7 separate regions of the Homo sapiens genome follow, and all the other regions are linked to region 1. The links are contacts of gene promoters, found by promoter capture Hi-C in blood cells and fetal thymus (Javierre and others, 2016). All regions are on one chromosome and are shown on one strand. The core of a region is centred on a gene start or on the middle of the fragment in contact, and the rest is flanking DNA. Distances in the headings are between cores, read along the strand shown.

Evidence for each region. Contacts are between HindIII fragments. The CHiCAGO score rates a contact against its expected background, and 5 or more counts as called.
Region 2: a fragment that was not itself captured here is called in contact with the fragment with the promoter of GAPT in region 1 in 3 of 17 cell types (naive CD4 T cells, fetal thymus and total CD8 T cells); the score reaches 9.0 in naive CD4 T cells.
Region 3: a contact is called between a fragment that was not itself captured here and the fragment with the promoter of GAPT in region 1, in 3 of 17 cell types (naive CD4 T cells, total CD4 T cells and total CD8 T cells). The highest score is 7.5, in naive CD4 T cells.
Region 4: a contact is called between a fragment that was not itself captured here and the fragment with the promoter of GAPT in region 1, in 1 of 17 cell types (non-activated CD4 T cells). The highest score is 5.1, in non-activated CD4 T cells.
Region 5: a contact is called between a fragment that was not itself captured here and the fragment with the promoter of GAPT in region 1, in 4 of 17 cell types (naive CD4 T cells, non-activated CD4 T cells, naive CD8 T cells and 1 more). The highest score is 6.6, in naive CD4 T cells.
Region 6: a contact is called between a fragment that was not itself captured here and the fragment with the promoter of GAPT in region 1, in 5 of 17 cell types (activated CD4 T cells, naive CD4 T cells, naive CD8 T cells and 2 more). The highest score is 7.1, in activated CD4 T cells.
Region 7: a contact is called between a fragment that was not itself captured here and the fragment with the promoter of GAPT in region 1, in 1 of 17 cell types (naive CD4 T cells). The highest score is 6.8, in naive CD4 T cells.

Annotation. Positions count from the first base shown.
Region 1 is chr5:58,489,354-58,493,287 of GRCh38, reverse strand. GAPT (GRB2 binding adaptor protein, transmembrane) reads right to left here and starts at 1,853. Exons shown (of 3, transcript NM_001304431.2): 1 at 1,747-1,853. The HindIII fragment of the contact is 6,945 bases long and covers 1-3,934 here.
Region 2 is chr5:57,374,987-57,378,506 of GRCh38, reverse strand. No RefSeq gene overlaps it. Among named protein-coding and RNA genes, the nearest start is that of RMEL3, 18 kb to the left of the region's middle. The HindIII fragment of the contact is 1,440 bases long and covers 1,212-2,651 here.
Region 3 is chr5:57,356,587-57,360,670 of GRCh38, reverse strand. No RefSeq gene overlaps it. Among named protein-coding and RNA genes, the nearest start is that of RMEL3, 36 kb to the left of the region's middle. The HindIII fragment of the contact is 1,674 bases long and covers 1,202-2,875 here.
Region 4 is chr5:57,436,488-57,439,981 of GRCh38, reverse strand. The region is part of intron 1 of RMEL3 (enriched in melanoma 3); the gene reads right to left. Among named protein-coding and RNA genes, the nearest start is that of RMEL3, 43 kb to the right of the region's middle. The HindIII fragment of the contact is 5,886 bases long and covers 1-3,494 here.
Region 5 is chr5:57,394,673-57,398,658 of GRCh38, reverse strand. It overlaps RMEL3 (enriched in melanoma 3), which reads right to left and starts at 3,552. Exons shown (of 4, transcript NR_186596.1): 1 at 3,481-3,552. The HindIII fragment of the contact is 8,479 bases long and covers 1-3,986 here.
Region 6 is chr5:57,420,701-57,424,471 of GRCh38, reverse strand. All of the region lies in intron 1 of RMEL3 (enriched in melanoma 3), which reads right to left. It also overlaps the pseudogene SALL4P1. Among named protein-coding and RNA genes, the nearest start is that of RMEL3, 27 kb to the right of the region's middle. RefSeq lists an enhancer at 2,767-2,936. The HindIII fragment of the contact is 5,113 bases long and covers 1-3,771 here.
Region 7 is chr5:57,332,761-57,336,669 of GRCh38, reverse strand. No RefSeq gene overlaps it. Among named protein-coding and RNA genes, the nearest start is that of RMEL3, 60 kb to the left of the region's middle. The HindIII fragment of the contact is 3,865 bases long and covers 520-3,909 here.

The sequences.
Region 1 (3,934 bases), core at 604-3,103:
ATTACTGTATATTTTCAGTCTAGACATAGACATAGATCCAACAGTGCCTGTGAAATGATTATTATCATCTATGGAATGTTATTATCATCAATAATGTTTAGTTAAGAGTTTCAGCTTTTAAAAACTGTTACAGGGATTATCTCATTTAATCCTATAGCTGCTATATGTAGTGGGTACTATTCATATCACCATTTTATAGATAAGAAGAGAGGCTTAAAGAAGTTAAGTAACTTCCTTACAACCAAAATGTGACTGAATGAGAATTCAGGTAAAAATTTCCCCAAAATATTATTTATCCAAATATCTGTAACATGCTACTAAGTGCATCAGTCAGAAAATTTGTATAGCTTGATTAGCTCTGAGGTTCTCGAAGGTTGGAAATCATATATTATTTACCTTTGTATTACCAACACCAGCATTAGACACAGAATGACTAATCTATTAGACATTTGTTAATGAATGAAGTAATCTCCTTATGGGATAATAATAGTAACAATGAGAAGAAAAATAGAAATTCACAAAGTGGTGCTCTGCTTTCAGTGAGTTTTCATGAAAAGTTTAATGGTAATGAACGTTCATAAATTTGTCCAAGGTTAGAATATATTAATATGCAAATATTTAATTTGACATTTCATAAAAGAAAATTAAATAAGATGTGCAGCTAATTTATACAATTTTTTGATAAAAATACAGGGACAAGCACCCCAGATGCAGAAACATTTTAATCTCCTTGGAATTTTTGGGAGTAATATTGAGGTTGAGAACTGTATGGTCCGCCACATAAGATTTACAATCTGCAGGGTCCCTCCTTTATAAGGCCAGCCGTGCTTGTGTTCAAGGACAAAAGTTTAGCCAAATGACTTTAATCATTAGGACCTCATTTCCTGTCTGAAACAGATGAGCACCAATTATCTGCAAGATATTTTATGGTATACATGGTTAATGATTTAAGAAGTTATTTGCCAGAATATTTGAAATAAATTTACAAAATACACTTTAAGTATTGATTGAAATTAATCAACTTTTTGAAAGATACTAGGCCTGCAACAGAAGTCACGGTGAGGGTTGAGGAAGGCTAACTATTGTCACTTCTGTAGCTGAGGATAAGGCAATAAATTACTCTCTTAATTTTTAAGAAGAAAAGGCATTTTTACCATCTATGTTATTCTATGTAGAGTAGAAATTCTGGTACATCCAAAATATTAAAATTGTTTGTCTAAGAGATATTTACCAAGATAAAGACAAGAAGACTTTTTACAGAAAAAGAAATGCATCATTTTCTTCGAAATAACATTAGAGGAAAAAACCTGTGAGACATGAACAAAGACCTACTATAATGAAAAACATATTTTAAACAATAACCATTCAAATATAGTTTAACACTTAAATAATGTTCACTTTGACCAGTTTGAAAGAAGACTCTGTTTTCATTTTGGAAAGCAGTTCCAACAGGTTACCTAACAATTTGACATTTTTCTTAAAATCGCAAATTGTTGAGAAACTTCAGGAATTTTCAAGTAAGAGAATGCCCTGCTGTTTGGAAACAAGGTAACAGCAAAGCATAATCATATTGTAAAGAAACATTAACATCACTCTCAGTTTGTAAATTGGGTTTCCCCCTTACAGCTACGTAAGGCATTTTTTTCTAAAAACTGTAGTAAGATAAAAATCATTGATTAATTAAAGACAAACTTGTTTCTTATAGTGTTTAATCATCCAAATACCTTAAATCAGGTTCTTACTTACCTCAAGATTGGTGTGTCAAGCTCTCTCTTTTGTTCTTTTGGTTATGTTTTAAACCTGCATTGGGTTAGAACTTGTTCCTCTTTTTCACTTTGGTGGGTTACTTCCTTCTTTCCCTCCTTCGTTCACGCTATTTAATACTTGCAAAGTTTCCTGGCTCTAGAGGAAGTCAGTATCAGATGCAGCAGAATTAAGATAAATGGCGTGAGGTTTTGAATAAGGAAGTCTGGCCCTTCATCTTTGTCAAGTAATAGTTTTTTAACTGTGTCAGAAAATAATACGTAAAGCCTACATGGTTTTTTATTTGGGCCATATTTGCAGTTCCCACTTTAATATCAATAAAAGTCACTTCACTTGTACTTTGATTTTTTAAAAAAAGAAATATTTTAATTGTAGTAACACATAGGTCTTGGGCTTTTATTATTATTATTATTATTTACTTGTGTTGCTAGACCAGTCCTCTCTTCAAATATTAATATTATGTACCAATGCTCCCAAGTTATAGCCATACAGGTCAAATCAGTGTCCCAATTTGGGTTTGGAAAATGTTAACGTTCTTTTAAATTTATAAATAGGAATTTCCTAAGGTATGTTTTGAGGCCCATTACCCCTGAGATATGCTAGCAGCTCTTCCATCAAGTAAATGTGGGGAATACTGCTTCCCTGGAGATTCATGGGTACATCAGCATGCTAAAGGCTCTCAGCAGTCTTACAGCCAGCAAACAAAATAAAACCAAATAAGAAAAAGAAATTGTTTAACTTTGCTTAATAATAGTAGTCAGTATGTTCCTAGCACTAAGTACTCCAAACCTTTTGTGTAATACTCAGCAAATCTTGGCAACAACCCTGTGAGGGAGAAAAACTGTTATTAGTCCTATTTTACAGAAGAGGAAACAGAAGCACACAGAATGATCACTTGCCCGACAGAGCCTGCAGTTTGCCCCCAGCACCTGTGTGCTAAACCACTGCACTGGCTGCCTTGCTAGATTGAGTAACATGTTTCCCACATAGATACGCTTACCAAGAGCATCTCTTGGAGTCCAACTCATGGGAACACACACAGTGGGAGATGCTGAATTAGACAAATTACAGATGAATTCGACAGATGAGATGACAAAGTAATGGAAAATTTGTCTTTTAAGTTGTCTTGGAACTTTTTGAACCACAGAGGATTAACTTTGCATAAGGTGGTTTTAAAAAAGAGGATTTAGTTACTGAAATAACTACTGGACATTGGAAGGACAGGACGTATTATTAACACTTGCTGAGCACTGACATTATGCCAGGCATTGTGCTAAGAGATGAGGATGCAAGAGTGAATAAGCTCCCTGCAGCACTTAAAGCCAAGTAGAGAGGCTGCTGCGCCCACAGAACATTTCAGATCAAAGTGATAATGCCTAAGAAAGACAGGATTATGGACAGGGACAGTGGAGGTAAAGGAAAGAGGCATCCAGCTCAGAGGGTGGTCAGGGAAGGCAAGACCTGAGCTAAGCCTCATAGAATAAGGTGTTAAGGCAGAATAGGGGTGTCCTGGACAAAAATCTTACAGTGAAGGAGGTTATGAAGTTGTGAAGCTATGAACTTGATGTGCTCCACATTCTCACCACTATATTTAACTTCAGTATTAGCCACCCCTCCAAATAATATACACACTCACCTGCCTAGGCATACATCTGTAAGAAAGGCAATTTATACAATGTTTGTATAAAATTATGATTTTCTCTAGAAGGCAGGACAACTGGTGCTCATTCAGCTTTTGCCCTTTGAAGTTAAAAAAGTTGCTTAACCCCTTATTACTTTAGTTTTTCTAACGGAAAATAAAATGGAGGGAAAATGACTGGCACTTTCCTCAAATAGAATTTTTTTGATGTAATGGATATAATTATTCTTCAAGTTTATAAAAGAAATGCTGTATATATTCAAAATAGAATTATTGGATCATTGTCATTTGTAGGGATTATGTTTTATGTCTTGAATTCTATATTTTCCTACTTCCCAATCTTTGGCCTCGCAAAATACATATTTATTGTCTCCTTTCAGTTCCTTTTTAATCACAGCAATTATGTCTAGGTTTTCTTTTCCTGCTTTTTCTTCTACAGTTATACGGTTTGGGTAGTAAAGGGCTTAGGAAGTAGTTTATTGTTCTGTAGTGTAATATGGACTGGATCTTTCATCTAAGTAAATCTTCCTC
Region 2 (3,520 bases), core at 682-3,181, 1.1 Mb after region 1:
AAAATTCAACAACCCTTCATGCTAAAAACTCTCAATAAATTAGGTATTGATGGGACGTATTTCAAAATAATAAGAGCTATCTATGACAAACCCACAGCCAATATCATACTGAATGGGCAAAAACTGGAAGCATTCCCTTTGAAAACTGGCACAAGACAGGGATGCCCTCTCTTACCACTCCTATTCAACATAGTGTTGGAAGTTCTGGCCAGGGCAATTAGGCAGGAGAAGGAAATAAAGGGTATTCAATTAGGAAAAGAGGAAGTCAAATTGTCCCTGTTTGCAGACGACATGATTGTATATCTGGAAAACCCCGTTGTCTCAGCCCAAAATCTCCTTAAGCTGATAAGCAACTTCAGCAAAGTCTCAGGATACAAAATCAATGTACAAAAATCACAAGCATTCTTATACACCAACAACAGACAAACAGAGAGCCAAATCATGAGTGAACTCCCATTCACAATTGCTTCAAAGAGAATAAAATACCTAGGAATCCAACTTACAAGGGATGTGAAGGACCTCTTCAAGGAGAACTACAAACCACTGCTCAAGGAAATAAAAGAGGATACAAACAAATGGAAGAACATTCCATGCTCATGGGTAGGAAGAATCAATATCGTGAAAATGGCCATACTGCCCAAGGTAATTTACAGATTCAATGCCATCCCCATCAAGCTACCAATGCCTTTCTTCACAGAATTGGAAAAAACTACTTTAAAGTTCATATGGAACCAAAAAAGAGCCCGCATCGCCAAGTCAATCCTAAGCCAAAAGAACAAAGCTGGAGGCATCACACTATCTGACTTCAAACTATACTACAAGGCTACAGTGCCACATTTTCTTAATCCAGTCTATCATTTTTGGACCATCCATCCATCTTTCCATCTATCTATCTATCTGTCCATTCATCTATTCTTTCATTCGTGTGTCCAATCTACCACCTTACTCGTTTCATTAATGTGTATTGAGAACTTTGCTCCTGTGCAGAACCCTGGTTAAATGCTGTGGAGGATATGGGCAGTAAGTTAGATATGATCCCCACCATCAAGGAACATCTCCTTTAATGGGAGAGATAAAACATATGTACATTACATTTAAAAAATCAGTGAAAATTTATTTATAGTCCGTTTCACCTGGATTATAATTGCAACATATTATGAATATGTTAAAAAGTTGAGGAAGACACAGTCTCTTTATGCTTTCAATAAGCTTACAGTGTGTGGCTGGATTAGTCAAACACTAAAATAATTACGATAAAAGGCACACTATGATACATGATGTGAAAAAGACACAAAGAAAGTGCCTTGGAAATGAGAGGGAAGGTAATATATTTATTTGGATGGGGTGAGGGAGAGGGGAAAGTAAACCTCATGAAGAAAGTGGATTTGAGTGGAGTCATGAAACATAAACTAGATTAGGAAAGATGGCGATAATGGAGAAGCAAAGAAATAGAAGAAGGACACTAGGCCATGTTTAAGAAAGAATAAGATACCCAGTTTAAATGAAGGATAGGGTAATGTGTAGAGGGGAGTAATGGGAGAGTGGAAAGTTTGGAGTCAATGCAGAGCCATTGAAAGTTGTTGAGTGGGTGAGTAACATGGCAGGATCTGGGATCTGGGAAGATTAATGTGCAACAATTCCAGTAAGTAGAAGTCACTGCAAACATGTTCACCTGCTTCATACTTCTACTTCCACTTAGAAAGACTCCATCTTTCTAAACCTCATTTCATCCCACAGAGAATGAGGGTGTTTATCCTGCCTTGTTCCCATTATAGAAGAAGTCTAAAAAGCAGATAAAAACTAATTCCCAATAACATGCTGGTGCTGTCTCAAGGGAATTATATTTTAAAACAGAATCATTGAGAAGGGACAATGTTGCAAATAATAATGGGTCTTAGATTTTAGTTAAAGATGATCATCACAGCATCTGTGAAAATCATAGGAAGGACAAGGTTTATTTTTAAACACTATGTAGAAAAGTGTTTTTCTGTTCGTCCCAAGGTTAATTGATTATCCTACTATCCCATATCTACTGGGGTAATGGGTAAGGCAATTTAAAGACATGCCAAAACCCCAACATGCCTTCAGAATAATCCAAAAATATTAAATGTTCAGTGGAATTTTTCTATTAATGTATTTTATTGTGTTCAAATTTTTGGAAAATTGCCACCCTGTATGTATACATTATGCTATAAATGACAATTTTCTATAACTAAGTTATTTATTAATTAGGAAGCTAAGTAATATTTATAAAGTTAATTTTCTTTTTCTTTTAAATTTCCTACCATTTTAATCAAAAAAAGAAATCATTTCATAATCACGTGGTAAGGATTTTCACCAACCTGATTAAAAGCCAGAGTGCAGGCTGATTGATAGATAAATAAAAGTATGCAAAGTCCCAGCAAGTAGCTGCCTTAGATGAACCAAAGGAAAAAAATTTAAGTATAAAGTGTAGTCTGATTCTTATAAACTTCAATACTGCAATATAAGACATTGTTTTCCCTATCAAATTCACAGATTTCGGTAAATTTTACTTTTAACTTAATTCTTGCCTCAGAATTAGTTATTTGACATCACTTGTAAAAGACATAAAAATAATGTTTGCTTTGGCCTCATCATTAAGGATAAAACAAATTAATTTTAATTAAGCTTTGTATCATTCAAATGTATGCGATCTTGTGACCTGTGTAGTCATTTCCTTCATTATACTAAATCTTATTGCATTATACTATTAAATCTTCTACCTCATTCCAGATTATGCATTAATTCAAAATAAAGTGGCATGCTTCAAGTAGGAAATCAAAGGTTCTGATTATTGCTACAGACTAACTTATAAATTTAGGACCCTCTAGTGCTTGCAAATAAAATGAAGCTGGCACAACATCACAATAAAATGTGTTAATCTAATATTCTGGAGTTAATTTTCTATTAACAAAATTGCTTTTAGATAGATATGTCATCTCACATCCTCAAAACAACCCTGCAAGTTGGGGATTATTACTTTATTTTATTAACACCATTACTATTTTATAGGTTTGAAAACTATGCTAATCAACTTCCCTGAAGTCATAGCAGCTAGTAAATGATGAATTCTAGGGTCTTATAATTTAGTATTTCACATTCTTTTCACTGTATTGTAATTATTTCAAAAAATCTTTCTGCATTTTCCCATTTTCTGCTAGGTTAGTGGTTCTGTAGAATCCTACATATAAGTCTTCTAAAAGGGACTATTATTTTCAGTAGTCCCCAAACAGCCATATACTAATCAGTGCACTCTGCCTAGCTCTGGGGCCCTCAATAAATGCTCATAACCCCAATAAATGTTCTCTGAATAAGTGAATTCATCTGCATCTAGACTAAATATGCTCACTCATAAGAATTCAATCATTTTCTAGGAAGGAGGAACATTTTGAGTATAAATACACACATATATGCGTTTGTGTGTATGTGTGCGCACGCACGTGCATGCATGTGTGCACATACCAAATCACCTCTCTCAATAAATTACCACCAAACCCCT
Region 3 (4,084 bases), core at 789-3,288, 1.1 Mb after region 1:
ACCAGCACCTGCCCCCTCCTCCAGCCTTAATTCTGCCATCAACATATTAGAGAGGTGCACAGAGCCCTTGCTCCTGGAGGGATAGTTCCTTCCCCAGCCTCAACACTACCCGCCTCACCCCTACAAACTGCCTCAGAGAAGGCTCTGGCCAACATCACCAATGACCTCCACTTTTCCAAATCCAGTGGTCTATTTACGCTCCTCACATTATCCAAACTGACTGTCTACCTTACCCTAGGAAAGCACCACAGCTAATCCCACAGCCAGTGTCCTTATTTCTTATTTCACTAAGAAACTAAAAGCAATTAATACAAAATTGCCTCATTTTCTTATCAGCAACTTTATCAACCTGGCTTCAACTGTACTGTATACTGTGACACATCCCAATGACAAAAAATAAGCCATACTTAATCCTACCTAAGCCCAAACTCTCCACTTGATACTGATTCCATCCTCTCTTTGCTATAACAGTTATTCCCTCTCTGCCCTACATCTTCAATTTTACCCCTTTCTATGGGATCATTCCCAGCAGCATATATGCATACTGTAATACTTCCTTATTAAAAAGCAAAACAAAACAAAACAAAACCTCTCCTTTGTGTTCATTCCACTTCCAATTACTGCTCCATTTCTCTGCTCCCCTTTGGAGCAAAACTCCTCAAAGGATTACTATACTTCCTGCCTCCTCTTTTTCAACCCACTCTCTCCCTCTCTCAATCCACTCTAAGGAGGCTTTTAATTTCCACCTCTCCACTAAAATTGGTCTTATTGAAGACAATGACTTCCACCTTGCCAAATCCAATCATTAATACAGTCCTCAATTCACTTGACCTCCAGCAACATTTTCACAGCTGATTCCTCCACCAGGCTGGAGTACAGAGGCATGGCACAATCTGCTAACTGTAACTTCCAACTTCTGGGGGGATCCTCCCATCTCAGCCTCCCAAGTAGCTAGGATTCCAGCCATGTGCCGCCATACTGAGCTAATTTTCTTTTTGCTTTTTTTTTTTTTTTTTTTTTTTTTTTAGAGATGGGGATCTTGCTGTATTACCCAGGCTGGTCTCAAAGTCCTGGCTTCAAGCTATCCTCTCCCCTTGACCTCCCTCTTTGCTTTCTTCACATACCTTCAATAAAATCCATATTCTCCAGGCTATTTTGTTTGTTTTTCACTAAGACAAGGTCTCACACTGTCACCCAAGCTTGTTTGTTTTTCACTGAGGCAGGGTCTTACACTGTCAGCCAAGCTGGAGTACAGTGGTGCTGTCCAGCTCACTGCAGCTTCAATCTCCCGGGCAGAAGCAAACCTCACACCTCATCCTCCAGAGTAGCTGAGTAGCCAGGACTACAAGCATGCACCACTGTGCCCTGCTAATTTTTTGTTTGTTTTTTGTAGAGACGAGTTCTCATTACGTTGTCCAGGCTGGTCTCTAACTCCTGGGCTCAAGCAAGCCTACCACCTTGACCTCCCAAAGTGTTGGGATTGCAGGCATGAGCCACCACACCCAACCTACTCTCCAGGTTTATTCCTAGCTCAGAACATTTTTCTCCTCTTCCTCATCTTTTAGTGCTGAATGATGCACCAGGACTTATTTTTTCCTTCATTTTAAATTTTATGTATTTATTAGAGACAGCATCTGGCTCTTCTTACCCAAGCTGGAGTGTAGTGGCGCAATCACAGTTCACAGCAGCCTTGAACTCCCCAGGACTTCTTGTTTGGCCCTCCCTCCAACTAACAGAGACTAACCCTATAGATGATCTTATCCAGTTCTAGGTCATGCCATTTACTCAGATGACGTCTAACCTCTCCCCTGAGCTCTGAACTTATATATCCAACTGCCTACTTAACATTTCCTTTTGGATGTGTAACAGACATCTTAAATCTAATAGGACCCAAACTGACCTTCTGATTCTATTCACTTACTCTTACAGCAGGCTTCCTCCATTCAGCAAATGACCCAGTTTGGGTCACATACCAAATCCTGTGATCCACAGGGGAGAGCTCCCCAAATGAAAGAGGATGTTGTTACCAGAAGGGAGATGGGAAAGTCTGCAGGGCAAACCAAAAGCAAGAGTTGTCAAGCCCATTACTAACCCAGCTTCAACTATCCTTGCCCACTCAGCAGGCCACTTTTGCCTCCTGGCTCACTGAGAAAATTAAGACTATTTTACCTACACCTGCATCAATTTTAATCTCCTTTCCTCCAACTCGAAGCCAGCTCTCCACCTGAGCACTTGCTCTTGTTCCTTCATTTTTCTTCATTGGTACTGCTCTGTTGGTAATCTCCTTTTCCTGCATTTTTGTCTTTTCTCCCAGCTGATGCTCTCCTGCTAGCCCACAAACATGTCAAATCTGCACCATCCTAAAAAGTTTCAAACTTCTAGCTCTTGTGTGTATTTACCCTCCTGTTCTCTGTCAGGCTTCTTCGAGATACAATCCTTACTCTCTGCACTTGCTTCTCATTGTACCCACAATGTCACATCAAACTGGCTTCTGTACCCACTGCCCATCTGCTTCCAGGGACTTGAATCACGCAAAGCACTTCTCCACTCTCAACCCACCTTCTCTAATACCCACACCATTTTGGCATTATCACTTTCTCTTCTCTCCACCAAGTGCGGACCTTTGATATCCAGCACATAAAGTCATTCAAAACGAACAGAATGATTGGATTCTCAAAATAATAGGCCAATCAGCCTTGGAATAGCTGAGGAGTATTGCTCCAGTGTCTTCATGGATTAGCTGAGAAAAATATCATATAAACTCTTAATTTGCATTAAATTTATAATAAATATGACCACTAGAAATAGTAAACTCAACATAACTGACAAACTAAAAATGTACATAGAGAATTTTTAACAGATTTATTTTTAAGCTTGATTGAATAATCACATTTTCTCAATAACTAAAAATTGACATGGGGAAATATTCATCAAAAGAATATGAAACTAGCCACAACTAAAACTTCATATGGTAAACAGTTGACAGACAAGTCCTTCTTGACTAAATTTGGATCTGTAACATTTTAATTGGGCAAATTGGGCTTGGTTGTCATAATAACCACAAAATGAAACAATATGACAAAAACTATAAACTGGTAAATTGTCCTTGTGAATTTCCCATGAAAAATAATGCTGGTAAAATCGGGGGGAGGAGCCAAGATGGCCGAATAGGAACAGCTCCGGTCTACAGCTCCCAGCGTGAGCGACACAGAAGACAGTGATTTCTGCATTTCCATCTGAGGTACCAGGTTCATCTCACTAGGGAGTGCCAGACAGTGGGCGCAGGTCAGTGGGTGCGCACACCGTGCATGAGCTGAAGCAGGGCGAGGCATTGCCTCACTTGGGAAGCGCAAGGGGTCAGGGAGTTCCCTTTCCGAGTCAAAGAAAGGGGTGACGGACGGCACCTGGAAAATCGGGTCACTCCCACCCGAATACTGCGCTTTTCCGAGGGGCTTAAAAAATGGCGCACCACGAGATTATATCCCGCACCTGTCTTGGAGGGTCCTACGCCCACGGAGTCTCGCTGATTGCTAGCACAGCAGTCTGAGATCAAACTGCAAGGTGGCAGCGAGGCTGGGGGAGGGGCGCCCGCCATTGCCCAGGCTTGATTAGGTAAACAAAGCAGCGGGGAAGCTCGAACTGGGCGGAGCCCACCACAGCCCAAGGAGGCCTGCCTGCCTCTGTAGGCTCCACCTCTGGGGGCAGGGCACAGACAAACAAAAAGACAGCAGTAACCTCTGCAGACTTAAATGTCCCTGTCTGACAGCTTTGAAGAGAGCAGTGGTTCTCCCAGCACGCAGCTGGAGATCTGAGAACAGGCAGACTGCCTCCTCAACTGGGTCCCTGACCCCTGACCCCTGAGCAGCCTAACTGGGAGGCACCCCCCAGCAGGGGCACACTGACACGTCACACAGCAGGGTATTCCAACAGACCTGCAGCTGAGGGTCCTGTCTGTTAGAAGGAAAACTAACAAACAGAAAGGACATCCACACCAAAAACCCATCTGTACATCACCATCATCAAAGACCAAAAGTAGATAAAACCACAAAGATGGGGAAAAAACAGAACAGAAAAACTGGAAACT
Region 4 (3,494 bases), core at 186-2,685, 1.1 Mb after region 1:
TAGAGATTTTGTGTCCAATGAGTGGATTTGTCTGCCTGATGTAGAAAAAGGAACGGTAATAGCTAACACTTAATAGCTCTCTATATACCAGGCACTGTTCTAAGCATTTTAGATACACTGACTCATTTCAGGATGATACCAACTCTATGAGGTGTTGCTATCTCGATTTTATAGAGGAGGAAATTGGGGCTCAAAGAGGTCAAGCAATTTGCACATAAATCTCTCAGCAGTAACTGGTAGCACCAGGATTCAAATTTGGGTAGTTTGGCTCCAGAGTTTGGCCTCCTAACCATCATGCCACACTGGCTGCAAGACCTAGGGTAAAAGGGTCTTGGGAAAACTCAACAGATTACCCTTTATGGTAGAAAGAGCAATGATAATAAAGTTAAAAATCAGTGGTAACCCAGAATAGCTGAGTGATGTGGAGCAAAATACTTAACCCTCTTCACTTCAGGTTTTTTATTTATAAAATAGGGAAAACTAAACTAACTCACAGGATAAACGTGAGGATTAAATAAGAGCAAATAAGTATAAGAGAAAGGCATATTAGTTAGGAATTGTATTCCATTGCTTAATAACAGATGCTAGAAATGAGAGATGTTTCAACAAGATAAAAATTTCTTCAGCTCACACATATTTTTAAAATGTCCAGAGGTAGGCAGTCCTAGGCAGCTATAGCTCTACAGTGTCATTAGGGATCCAGATACCTATCTTTCTCTACAATTCTGATTAATAGCGCATGGCTGCACCCTCAAAGTTGCCTTATGATCCAAAATGGCTGCAGCAACTCCAACCATTATGTCTGCTTTCCAGGAGAAATAGGGAGAAGGAGTTAAGGAATAGAAAAAGTCTGGATTAGCTGATGTCCTCCCCTTTACAGCACTTTCCCAGAACCTTACCCAACAACTGTATACATTTTATTAATTAGAACTACATCACATGACCACTTCTAGCAGCAAAGGAAGCTGGGACATATGGCCTCATTACTGAGCATACAGCCATCAGAATGAAATCAGGGTCTGTACTAAATGAAAAGGGGATATGGATATTGGTTAGGCAACAAGCAGTCTCTGGCCATAGAAGGAAACTAAATTTCATTGAGCATCAACTCCCCGCCAGACACTTCACATAGATTTTCTCATTTGACCCTTGTAGCAATCAAGAAAGATTTAAATGTTGTTACTACATTTATACAGAAAGAAATGGGATCGAAGAGAATAAGCAACACCATTCTTCATACAGGGAAACAGATTTAAAACAGATCTAACTTCAAAACTTGAACTCTATCCATAACATCATTCAGCCTCCAAAGTTTCCTCTAAGGAAAAGTATTTTGTAAAAGTTCAAGCATCATGTGCCACGTATACCTTTAAGACTTCTGTTGTATTAATACTTGAAATTATGTCTCAGTTACTTCCCTGGAGAAAGCAACGAACTCGCTTCAATTATTTTGTAAAAATAGAAATAAAACTGCGTATCATTTCAGTTGGTAGAAGAGGAACAGTCACTGAACATATATATATCCTGGTTACTGATGTGTCCACGTTTTGAAAGCATTTCCTGGCCTTCCTCTCCAACAGTCAGGATAAACAGTCAGTAAAGGTCATTCTGCAGAAGGCCGACTGTCACCCTGAGTAATATCTATCCCTCGTGTTTCAACCCCTTTTCCTGCAGCCACAGATTGTTTATATTAAAAAGAGAAGATGATCTTTATGTTTTCTCTCTTCTTGACTCATTTTGAAAGGAGGTATGGCAGAGAACATAGAGGAATTGCATCCAAATCCTATAGCTACATTTGCATCCTGGGTCCATTCCAGAAATCTGAGTGTTAAGAGAGTGAGGAGGTGCAAAGCAAGGAAGGAAACAGAAATGCTTGAACCCCCATAAACAGGCTCTTCAGCATTGTGTTTATTCTCCTTCCTCCAGTTCATTTTCCTGCCCTAAGGAGAAGACAATCCTGATTTGCAAAAACTAGGAATAAATTGTTGTCTTTGCACTTTTTTTCTACAATGTGACCCTCGGTGCATATAGACACACACCTGGATTATAACAGGCCTTGCTTTGCAGGGCCCTTTGAATGGCAGATACAGAGGCTGAGCATTCAGGCACCCAACATATTATGACTTCTACGGCCTTTTCAAGTGACCCAGAATACTTGCTCCCCCCAGCCCCCACCAGCAACATTTCTTTTGGAAGACCAAGTCATTTATGCCACTTCCAAGATACCACAAATTACCTATGAGTATTCTTTCCTGAGAGCTGGTTTTGATTTGATAGAAAAGAGAAAATGGAAACAGCACAATGGGGACAACACAAGGGTGGGAAAAGACAGCCTGGTGGCTTCAAGATGAACTTTCTTACCTTACAAGTTTTTCTAATGGATTAATGTAGCAAAAAAAAATTTATACACTTCACACAGCTTCTCTGAAGGGAAGAGACTTTTGATGGCTTAAGAAAATGGCACAAAAAAGACTGGGGGAGATGAGGTATTTTCAAAGTACAGAATGCATAAGGGTGGTGGGGGGTAAAGGTGGCAGATGAGACATGAGAGAATAGGCATCTGACAATTGAGAAGAAGAAACTTTTGGGAGTCAAGAGGGAGAATCGAAAGGAGGCCTAAGGCTCCCCATCCACCTGCTACACAGCATCTCCTAGACCTGGCACTAAATCACAGCTTTTCCAAAGGGTGAATTTGTACTAGGGGCTACCTGGACTTCTAGCAGTGAGATGAGGGCAAAATTTAACACAAGGAAATACAGGAGGGAGTCATTTCAGGTCGGTAACATAGAGGAAATAGATTGGTTGGACTCGTTCCACCTACATTGGAGGCTCATCAGTGGGGTTTGTGTGTTTTCTACAGCAGGTGAGAGCCAGCCCTGAAAGATGATGGGAAGTCAGAGTGGAAAGACCTAACAATAGTGTTCTACAAATGTATCAAAGCTACAAAGGAACAGTATTCTCAATGTACCTTTGATATATTTCAGTGCTGTCCTAAGACCCAGGTAAGAGGGGTCCTGCCTTAGATACCCAACTGTGCCTATGACCAGTTTATATCAGTCAAGGAGCCTGCACAGCCAAGGTGAATCACATCCCCCTTTGATACCACTCTCTGGGTCCTGAAGACTCTGGAGTTTCTTGCCCAAACATCCCAAGCCTGCTTCCAGGTCTTATGTGGGCTTCCTCCCAGATGTGACCTCTTAAGAATAAACTGCACAGCTGGTGTATGCCACTTAACCCCAAGAGGCAGCTGTTTGGAGGAGGAGTGGATAGAACTGGAATGTGGGCACACAAGGCCCATTCAGGTATTGATTGGAGTTGATTCCAAGAAGGGAAATGAATGGGTCAGGTCGGAGATGCATTCTCCCACACTACACCATTGTAGTACTCCATAGAGATTTTGAGAAGTCACAATTTTAATCAGACTTTCCAGTTTATTACTAAGATATGTTTATAGTTTATTTAACATCTTTCAGCCTGACTTACAAATTTCAATA
Region 5 (3,986 bases), core at 969-3,468, 1.1 Mb after region 1:
AGATTATAATGGAACTAACCCTCGACCCATAACTATAGCAGGTTAGATCAGGAGATGGCTGTCATGAGCAGGAGTCTGCAGGAATTAATGACTCTTAAATGACTTCTGGCTTGGCATTTTCATAGTATGCTCAAAACCATCTGCATTGTAAACCAGGACTTGTGTCCCTGAGCAAGACATTCAATCTCTCTGAGCCTCCATTCCTTACTTGTAAAATAAAATGGACTTCTGTGCACAAAAGAACAATTTGAGGAGCCGGGCACAATGGCTCACACCTGTAATCCCAGCACTTTGGGAGGCTGAGGCAGGCAGATCATTTGAGCCCAGGAGCTCGAGACCAGCATAGGCAACAAAGCGAGACCCTTTTTCTACAAAAAAATCAACAAGTTAGCAAGGAGTGGTGGCATGCGCCTGCGGTCTGAGCTACACAGGAGGCTGAGATAGGAGAACCGCTTGAGCCCAGGAGGTCGAGGTTGCAGTGAGCCATAATCGCATAACTGCACTCCAGCCTGGGTGATGGAGTGAGACCTTGTTTCAAATAATAATAATAATAATAACTTCGGGAGTTTGTTTAAAATGTAAGCTATCAGGTCTCATTCCCAGAGATTTTGATCAGTAGGTCTTGAGCAGGAATCTTATTTTCTAGATATACTTTCCAAATTTCATTCCACAACATAAGATGTGCATGAGGTTTTGTTTGTTTTTTTAAAACTTTTTCATTTTTATGGGTACATCGTAGGTCTATGTATTTATGGGGTCCATGGAGAGGTTTTGTTTTTAATTTTTAAAATTCTACCTCTATAATTCTTCCTTAATTTTTAAATATTATGGAATGTAGTATAAACATTTTCTGTTGACAAAGTATGCAAAAGTTAGCTGTAGATTTGGGCAACATACATAAAAAGAGAAAAAATACAAATGCCTTTTAACTTAATATGGAAGTAGTCCCTGCTTATCTGCAGGGGAAACACCTCAAGACCCCCAGTGGATTCCTGAAACCACAGGCAGTACTAAACCTTATATAGACTATGTTTCTTCATATATATACATACCCATGATAAAGTCTAATTTATAAATTAGACACAGTAAGAAATAACTAATAATAAAATAAAACAATTATAACAATATACTATAATAAAAGTTATGTGAATGTCATCTCTCTTTCTCTCTCTCTTTCTCTCTCTCAAAATATCTTATGTGCTATACTCACCTACTGTCAGACTGCAGTTGACTGAGGACAATTAACACTTCAAAATGAAAACCTCCAATAAGGGGAGACTATTATAATTTTAAGTCAAATATTCCAAGAAAATAATCCCAAGAGCACACAGAAGTTTTGTACAAAGATGCTCATGAGCAAGTCATTTTAGTGGTTAAAATAAAATAAAATAAAACTCTGAACTTCTGAAACTTGACCTCTGATCAAACTGCCAGGCTAGACCTTCCCCAACGCAAACTCCAAATGAAGCACATCTGCCTCATTATGTGGTATTGTAGGTAGAAAACTATTGAAAAAAATAAATAAATAAGCACCCTCAAAGTGACAAAAACAGAGCAACGGTTAAGTAAGTGATGGTACATTCATAAAATACAATATTATAAAGTAGTTAAAATTGTCAGTATGGATACATTGCAATAGTATATTATTCATATATAAGTTCCATTAAAGCTAAGTTACATGAAAAAAATAGTGCAAACATTATATACACACACACATACACATTGCCACACCCACACATCCTCCCTACCCACTATAAACCTACAGAACAGCACGGGAGAACAAAGCCACAGGCTGCCCACAGAGTGATCCTTTCTTTTCTTTTTTGCCATACTTGATCTGAAACAAATAAAGTTATTTTTCCAAAGAAGTGGTGCAGTGAAAGGGTCCACCCACCTGTTTTAATAGGTTTCTAATTATTTAAGTGTGATAAGGCCAAGAAACGACATCACTGAAAAGATAGAGGTCACACAAGAAACCAGGACCCCCTCAGGAGGCAGAGGGAGGGGGATCTGTGGATGAACGCCTTTTTTGTGGCTTACAGGGAAGGAATTTGCGAGGCAGGGTCAAAAGGCATAGGATGGACTAATTGGAATAATTTCAGTGGGCTCTGGGGCACAGGGGCTGTCCCTGCTTGTGTGATACTGGTCCTGGGGTGATCGGTGTGGGTGGACAGTAGCCAGCGGAGGTAGTCGAAGCGTGGGCCAGTCGCCTGTCTAGGCAGGGAAACTGGCCTCTAGACAGGGCCTCAAAACTGGGTCAAGACAGCATTTAGAAAACAATATTATAACACCTGAAAGAGGTTGCAAAATAAAAGTCATTACTTGAAATTCTCTAACACTATGGGTTGGGGAGGGGCGCACCCAGAGACTACAGCTGTGATACTATTTTATATATATGTTTTCATCCAAGGTTTCTGGCTCGTAACTCCCATAGCGCTTGTGACAGTGTTTTGTTGTAATGTTGGAGCACTTTAGATCCCAGAAGCAGGCCTGAGAAAATACAATCTCTCTCTGACCGTCTCCTGCCCTCCTTTCACCTGCTCCCTTTTTTTCCCAAGGCAGGCCTTAGGAACTAAAAATATACTCTAATTGTTCCCTACCTTTCTGTCTTGCACTGGCCAAAAAGAAATTCCCTGACCTACCTTGTCTGATTGCAGGTCATAAGACCCCATTTCAGAAGAGGTCCTGCCCCATTCCCAGGAGGAAGGAATGCTGCACAGAGAGGCCAAAAAGAATCTGAACAGACAGGCCTTGCTGGGTTTAGAGCATACTCTTCTTATCCAATCACATTTTGACACAGTTGTCTCTGCTTCAATTATGGACAATCAATGCAGCCTCCAAAAGAGGCCCAAAGGACAGGGTTCGAGGGCTTCCGGGGCGCTGAACACATGGAGGCTGGCAGGAAGGCGAAGAACTCACCCACCTGCTAGAGCAGGGGCACGTATCCCAACTCCACAAGGACAGCAGCTCCTGCACTCAGGACCATTCCAGACCTCACCCTATGCATGTTTTCATGTGGCTATTTATTTGCATCCTTTCAGATATCCGTCATAATAAACTGGTAAGCATAAGTGTTTCCCTGACTTCTGTAAGTCACTCCAGCAAATTAATTAAACTCAAAGAGGAGGTCATGGAAACCCCAACTTGAAGCCAGTCAGTCAGAAGTTCAGAAGGCCTGGACTTACGACTGGTAAGAAGGAAAGAGTGGTCTTGTGGGACTGAGCCCTCAACCTGTGGGATCTGATGGTATCTCCCAGTAGACAGTGTCAGATTTGAATTGGAGGACGCCCAGCTGGTGCCTGCTGCAGAAGCGATTGCTTGCTTGGTGTATAAGGGAACCCCCACCACCACATTTGGTCACAGAAGTCTTCTGTGTTAATTGTTGGGGTGTGAGAGAAAAGGAAAAACAGAGTTTACTCACACTCAACAGCAATACTTAAAATCTTTCCATTTATTTTCTTACCCACTTCTCTCACCTACCGGATCGGCTGTTCTCAAAATAACCTGAGAAACATCTCCAAACCTCTGGTTAGTTTCTTCTCCCCAGTTGCTTCCTTCATTTGTCCCCAGAAAGGCTGAGAACAAGTCTGGGAGAGTAAGATCCTCCTGACGGGGGCAAATGAGGGAAGAGACTGACCCTTGAAAGCTAAATAAACTCTGCCAATTGTACCAATGCCAATGTCTGGGTTTTGATAATGTTCTATAGTCACGCAAAATGTTACCATTAGAGGAAACTGGGTGAAGGATACACAGGACTTCCCCATATATTTTTGGTAATTTTCTGTGAAACTATAATTATTTCAAAATAAAAATGTAAAACTGAGACATAATAATAATAAATGAAATTTAAAGATAAAAGTTTTTTAAAATCTTAACCTATCCCAGACCTTTTTTTTTTTTTTTCATCAACTCAGCCGTTTAAGGAAGATAAGTAACAAAAAGTGTATTCAATACTCCAGGGGTCTTTCAGAAGGTGTTGAAGTCAT
Region 6 (3,771 bases), core at 1,135-3,634, 1.1 Mb after region 1:
ATGAGTTCTTACAAAAAAAAGCGGATTCTAGAGATTTCACTCCATCTGCATTTCTCCTTTCGTGCAAGTTCTTCTTTAGCTTAGCTGACTGCAATCTTGTTTTCTTCCAGGAAGTGAGGAAACTGGTTTTGGGAATGCTGTCAGTAGCACATGGTTTTTCCACATCTGCACTGATACCTGATTGGGAGCCATCCATCTTGGAGTAGGTGAATCTGCTACTGCAGCATCACGGCATTGGCGAACTTCTTCTGGCAGATGGGGCAAGAATGCTGCGTCTTAATGGACGTGTTGGTTCAGTGAACCCCAAGGTGTGTCTTCAGGTTACCTTTGGTAGAAATGACTTGGCCACAGATCTCACACTGGTATGATCTCTCCCCTTTGTGGATGCAGTAATGCATCTTGAGGGAGCTCTGGCAGCTTAAGACTTGGTCGCAAATGAGACATTCGTTGGGGTCGGTGGTCCCATTCCCTTGGAAGCCACCAGTCCTTTGGGAATTATGTTTGGTCCCACCCCAGGATGTATAGGTCCACCCTCACTTTCTGGAGAAGGCCCAGGCTGCAAGTTGCTTGGCCGGGGGCCACCCTTGATGTCCTTGGGGTTAGTCACCAAAGAAGGATTCTCAGGTAGCTTTACCAAGGGGGTTACAAGGACAGGTTTGCTGTCTAGAGAGAGACTTGATTCATCTACAGGGAGGGGTACAGAGAGTGCATAGGGGATGCCATTGCCTGTGGCCACTTTGTCCTGGAGCTCGGCCAACAGCTGGGGGTTTGCCTTCACCTAGGGATGTCAGCAAAAGTGCACCTTGAGGTCGTTCTTGGTGGTGAAACGATGACCACAGACAGAGCACACGAAGGGTCTCTCTCCAGTGTGGGAGCGGAAGTGGATCTGCTAGGAGCTATCAGTCCCGAAAACCTTGCTACAGCACTTACACTTGTGCTTGTAGAGGACGGCATCATCTTTCGATTTGACATCCACCACGGAGATGTCCGGTGGCTTCCCTTCCCTTCCCTTGGTTGGGTCTAGCGCCACAGTGGAGAAAGGGCTCTGGAAGAGCAGCGAGCCCGGGGCCTGAGGATGTAAAGCACTGGGGAGGCAGAACATGACGTTTGGGAGCAGCCGGGTCCCATCCGGCTTTGGAACAAAGGGCGTCAGCCCTGGGGACAGGGAGCTGGTGGCAGAAGGGATGCCGGCGTGAGGTAGCTTGGCTTGTTTCAAGGCGTCCAGAGACAGACCTTGGCTTCCAGCTTTCTGGCTGAGCAAAACCACAGCTGCAGAAAGCTGCTGGGACATGTGGCTGCCCAAGGTCTTCAGGGTGTCGGCCCCGCCCCGCTGGAGTGCAGGCGCGAGAGGCTAATGTGTTCACCGGGATGCGGATCTGCTTGGTGAGCTGGGTCTGCTGTAGCTGCTTCTGCTGCTACAGACACAGTATCGGCTCGAGGATGCTGTTGGCGCCAGGCACAGGGGCAGGCAGGGCATCTGCGCTCCGCCGATTCACAGCCACCTTGGTGCCCCATAGTGCCTGCAAGGACACGTTAGTGTTGGCCACTTTGCCTTTGGGTAAATATCTTATCTACTCGGGGGTGGGTGACAGGGCCGTCTCTGTCTTTAGATACGGCCAGCTTCTCCTTCATGTCCCCTGAGCTGCTCCCATTCTCCCTGTGGCCATCCTCACTGCTTGGACTGGGTGGCTGGTGGCTCAGTACAGCTTCAGAGATGTCTTCTGAAGGCACTGGACCCTCGCCATCATTCATGATGAAGACGGGTGGATTTTTAGTGCAATTTTTCTTACGTTCCAAGAACTCAGAGATGCTAAAGAACTTTTCTCATAGACTTGAGTTTTCTCATAGACTTGCGTTTTCTCCCACCGAGCACCAAGCTCCCCCGCCGCCGACACCGCGGGGGCCACATCTACAAACTCCGGGGGGGTCGGCTGCTGCGGCTGCTGCTCGCCCTGGTCCTCCTCCGAAATGATGTGCTGGGATTTCGCGTGCTTGGGCCTCGACATGGTGCGAGCAACCAGGCGCCAGGAGAGCCGCAGTTATTTGCTCTCTCTGCCACAAATTCCAGAGTTGGGAAATTTACCCACCTTCCCAGCTCATTTTCATTCTGACTTATGTGGACACTCCCTCTATCCCCAGAAGAATACTTTTCTGTACTGCCAAAAATATACTGTGATTTGAGAATCTTTCTTTAACAAAATTCAAGTGCTTATTAGCTTTCCATCATTGTACAAATCTTCCTGTCTATGGCTACCTTACCGACTCCAAGCTCCCGCCGCAAATCAAAAGTATAAGTATTAGAAAAGTAAACCTATAAATATGACAAAGATGTAAAATGGCCAGTTTTGTCATAGGCCAGTTCTTAACATTGAAAATCCTTCTGCCAGTGTATTTTATTTTCTGCTATTCTCTTACATTTGTTTTTCACGAGGACCCATAAGAATACAGAAGAAGAAAACTTAGATCCAAAGGACTCTCAACCAACAGTGGTGTTGGGACACTATTTAGTTTTTTCTACAGCTGGAAAAGGAGAGCTCATGTGGATTTTCACAGCTTCCTTAAAAATGCAGGACTATGACTCCAAGCTCTCAAAATATCTGGAGGGAGAGCTGTGAGCATACTGGAGAATTCACTGAGAAATCTGGGCTCAAAGGAGAACAAATTATCATTCCCTAAAAAGAATAGGAGTGGGCATCTGGGCACTGGTAGCTTTCTTTCTAAGAAAGAAATTGTTCTGCTTTTTGAGTAAGGCAAGACAGAGCCATAGGTGAAACTCTATACATACCACTAGGAATGAATTAAACATTTATATCAGATATGCTATATAGCGCATCTCTATAAATATATTTATTGATTATCCTAAATCATATTATTTTAAACAGTCAAGGGTTTTAGTTAACAAAGATAAGTTTTTTTTATTCTACATAGAATAAAAGACTAGAATTCCTTCTTAGGTAGTATCCCATTCCCACGTGCCTTACAAGTTGGATCTTGGAAACCATGATGCTCTTACCACTCCTTTGCTGGTGCTGGAGACAATTGCAAGTGCAGCTACTGAAAGGAAAATTTTAACTGTGAAGCATCAAAGTTGCCTGGATCTTCACAGCTCTGAAGCAGAATCTATTGTTGTTTTGTTTTTGCTTTGTTTGTTCTGTTTGACAACATTTAGACAAAGTTTAAGAAGACAAAAAAGTAGACAAAAGACAAAGACTAACAAAGGAAATCCAGAAAGACCATCCAAAACAAAGACTCTCTAGTTCCAAGTCTTTTTTATTTCTATATAAACTCGAGGCATTCAGTCACTAGTCTTTTATACTTGTGTCTTCTTGACTTGAAATAAAATGTGTCATGCTAAGAATCCAATTACTTGACCAGAGACAAAATTTCATTAGTCACCAAAGAGCGATAAAATACTGCTATGTTCAAGGAGGTTCAAACATGTTGTCATCATTGCAAACTCAGCAACAGTCTAGACTATGTAACCTCTTGTTATCAGAAATCAGTCAGGGAAACTCCTGGAAGAAATAAATCCCTCATATGGCTTCAGTCCCACCTCACCTCTCAACACCATCATGCTCTCCACTGCAATCATGAGTTTTATTTCAGTTCTTCAAATACCGCAAGACTTCTCTTATGTCCAGGTCTTTGAATATGCAGTTGCTTCTGGATATAATATTCTTCTACTTATCACTTTATTCATTCCTCTTTCAGATCTCATATCAGTATCACTTCCCTTAGGGAGCCCTGCCTGGGTCCCTCTCACAGCATATC
Region 7 (3,909 bases), core at 1,203-3,702, 1.2 Mb after region 1:
AGGTGGAGAATGGGGAGGGGAGATGGAGGGACCAGGGACAAAAGGAGGCTGGCACAGCAGTTGAACTATCTTTAGAACAGAATTTGTCCCTCTTGAATTTCTTCATCTGTCTCTGAATCTCTTTTCTACCTTTATGTACATGACCTGTTAGCAGACCTTTAGAGTTAAGTACTAAGTTTATTCTGCTTTTTTTATTTTTTCAATTTTGGGGACAGAGTTCCAAAGGCATCTCACAAATTCACTCCACGCTCAAGTCATTTTTCCATCAGCATATGGCCCTTGGGAAGATCATATTTGAAAAGGGATATTTTCAAAAAGGGTATTTCAAATACTTTCAAAATGCATACTCAAAAAAGATCATATTTCTTGCCATTTGGGGAAATAGGTGTGTGTAAGTACCTTCAACTCTTCCTAAATAAAGTGCTTTGAATCTGCAGCCTGGGTCTGAGGGGCAGTCTTGTTGGTAATTCCCTCCCCAGCTTACCCAGCAGGGCCACAAGTGGTCTTGCATCGGAAGCTTGGAAGAAAACAGCAGTGATGCCCTGGGTTGAATGTTCCTACTCCACTGAATTGTTACTTGATTTCCCCCTAATTTCTTTCTAGAATTATATTTTAAGGCCTATTATTTTATTCCATCAGGACCATGAGATAAAATGTTCAATCACCCCAGCTAAGGAGAACATTCCTGGGGCAGCAGTCTTCTCTCTACACCAGCACATTCAGCAAGCCTTTGGCCTCTGAGAGGTCCTAGACTCCCCTGGAGGTTCAGTAACTCATCAACTTTCAAATTTCAAACCCTTAGAGTATGTGGGATCTGGGGCTGGAAGAAGGAGACTTAAGAAGCACATCCTCCACCAGCCTGGAGATGAATGCTATGCCTTTGTTTCTCTGTAAATTCACCAGAGAGGTAAGACTGGAGTCAATAAATGGGCTAGAGTCCAGAAAATAGCATTCTAAAAAATACCATAGATCATCAAATCTAAGGAGTCAACAATTTGTAAAGCACACCAGTATTGTATGTGCCACTAAGAAAGAAAAAAATAAAAAACACTGCCAATCAATGACACCAACTCCTTGTTTCTTTGAAATTTCTTTGATTTATTCCAAAGGATTTGGGAATTCCTACTTCCTTTAGTCACATTGCTCATCCTATTATAGGCAATCCTTTTGCACATATCTCAGTAACACATATAACACAGTTCCAACTACTTATGAGTATCTTCCTTTTTTAAGTCCCATAAAGCCCTTTAAAAAATATGGAATTTCCTCCATTCTGCCAAGATGGATATTTGCTTCACTGACATCAAAATTATGCTTTGCTGCTCTGTTCCATGCCTCTGTGTAAATAATGACTTCATTCCAGAGCTGAATCATAATGTAAACCTACCGAAATACTTTAAACACCATTGAATAGTACCAACAACAAACATAACTCCATTAAAATGAGGACTCCATGACCAGCAATGAATGACCAAGTTCACACATGCACAAGAAAACACCCACAGATGCCAAGCCAGTAGCAAGAGTAAAACATCACCATTTGCAAATCTCATCCTGATTTCAGAGGTGCTAAAATATGTGTGTGGGGGGTACATCTTAGAAATATTAAAATATGATGAATATTAAAATATACCTGCATCTAGCTGGTTAGTGCCCTAATAACCAGGGTACATTTTTAAAACATTTGAGCTTAGAGAGTATGTGGGTGGGTAGGGTCCCAGTAGGAAATAGATGGCAGACACAAAAAGGGGTGATTTAAAATAATTTCGATGAAGAGACTATTTATCAAAGTGTGGGCAGGATCAAGGGAAACCAACAAGCACCTCTGGGCTAGAAATAGCAGAAAATTGCTACAATCCCTGACCTAAAGATGTAAGAGGAAAGAGAGGTCACCTGAACCCAGAGAAACCAGCAATGTAGAGGAGGCCACCACAACAGGAGCTGTGGCCTTTGGTAGAGGAAGGTGGCTGGATAGGGAGGAAGCAGAAGGAATACATATCCTGACCTCTCACTCTGTCTGTCCTCCAGTCTCCTGTGTTTGGCCACATCATCCAGCAGTCAGAAGGGATGTGGTCCGTGGAGGTCAGCCCCCAGCACAGACAGCAGGGTAGAGAACAAAAAGGAGGTGGAAGACAATGTCCAACATTGATAGTTTTAGCTTAAAGTTTAGTATTCTATGGTGGCCTTGCATGAATTTTATGACCAAAGTAGATATTTCATAGCCCCTGGATGAAAATGATAACAATAGCAAGGACCTGGGAACTTGGAACTTGACTGCCCATTTGTCTGACTGTTGGATTAGATCCAAATTTGTGTTCTGAGAAAAATCTTAACCCTACCTCTGGCTACTCCAGTAATATATAAAGATGACTGAGATAGAGGTAGGCAGGCAGGCAGGTAGGTAGAGAGACATAGACACACAAATACAATCTGACCTCACCTTGTAAGGCAGCTCCAAGTGGCTATGGGAAGAACTGCCAAAGTTAGAATAAGGTGGGCTCAATGGCCTTGAAGCCAGCTTTGCACGTAGATGAATAACAATGTGCCCTGAACTTGCTGTGCGCTAGACACTGGGCCAAGTGCATTATATTCAGACCGCAATTAACCCTCACACAACCCTCTGAAGTAGGTACTATGGACTATTCCCACTATACAGAGGTTTAAGAATAACAGCAAGCACAAATGTCTTTTAAAATAAACTGGATTATATCACTTTCCTGCCGAAAGTGCCTTCTGCACTTAGAAGAGACTCTAAAGTCCCCATCAGAGCCCACACAACTTCATGTTATAGGACTCCGACCTGGCTCCTGGCTTCAGCTCCTCCCCAGACATCCTGTTTCACAGGCTCCAGCTGCACTGAGCCTCCTTCACTTCCTTGGGTGCTCCCAGTTCATTCCCTCCTCAGTCCCTTTGCATAGGCTGTTCTTGGTTCTCATATTGAATGCTCTGCTCCTGTTGCTGAAGGCCAGCCTTCTCATCTTCTATCAGCTCGATGGTCACCTCCTAGAGGCCTCCCCTGACCAACGTGGGTCCACCTGCATCCCCTGCCTTTTTCCTCTCTTAGGCCCTTGTTTGTTTTCTTTGCAGCATTCCACCATGTGTGCAGGTGTATATGTATGTCTCACTCCCACTAGGACATGAGTCCCCTGAATGTAGGAAGTATATCTGACTTGGTCCTCTTCCCAGCTCACCCCAGCATCACTTTTTCAGCCCCTCAGTGTCCTTTGAAATCTTTATCAAAATTTGCCATTCTTTTCTTTTCTTGCTACTTATTCTTAGACTGTTTCCCTGCAAGAACCAAAGTTCCTTTGTTCACCACCCTATCCTCAGCACTGGAAATTCTCCCTGGCAAGTTGATAGTGAAATATGCCCAAGGTCTTGGGATCACTGAATGAGCAGGATCTGCACCCAGGTCCTCTTTCTCCAGAGCCCTCCCCTGCTTCAGCTCAGGAGACTATGTTCATGAGACTTCCTCACCCTGCAGGGAAGCAGGATACAAATGTCAGGTAGTCTGCCCATGTGGCCTGCCCCTATGGATGAGGAACAACAGTCACACTTCTATCTCCAGTGTCCCCCAGCCGAGTTGGTTGAACTAACTAAAAAGGCACTGAGCCAAAAAAAGGAAAACCCTGCACCTTCTCTTCAACCCCAGCTATTCTAAGCTGCATGGAAACTGGTTATGTTTCTCCATTAGGCAGAAGGGGTGGCTCCTGTCAGCATTAAAAAGGCACAGACAGAGGCAGCATCATTACCCCAAGGTATCAGGCTCTGGTCTTCCTTCAGCTTTCCCTCCTTCCCAACATCATTAATTTTTTTCAGTTTAATCACAAGAAGAAACAGGATGTATGAAGCCCCAAACAGCATTGTCTCCTTCTCCTGGGGAATATATCACCATTTCATTTGTATAAT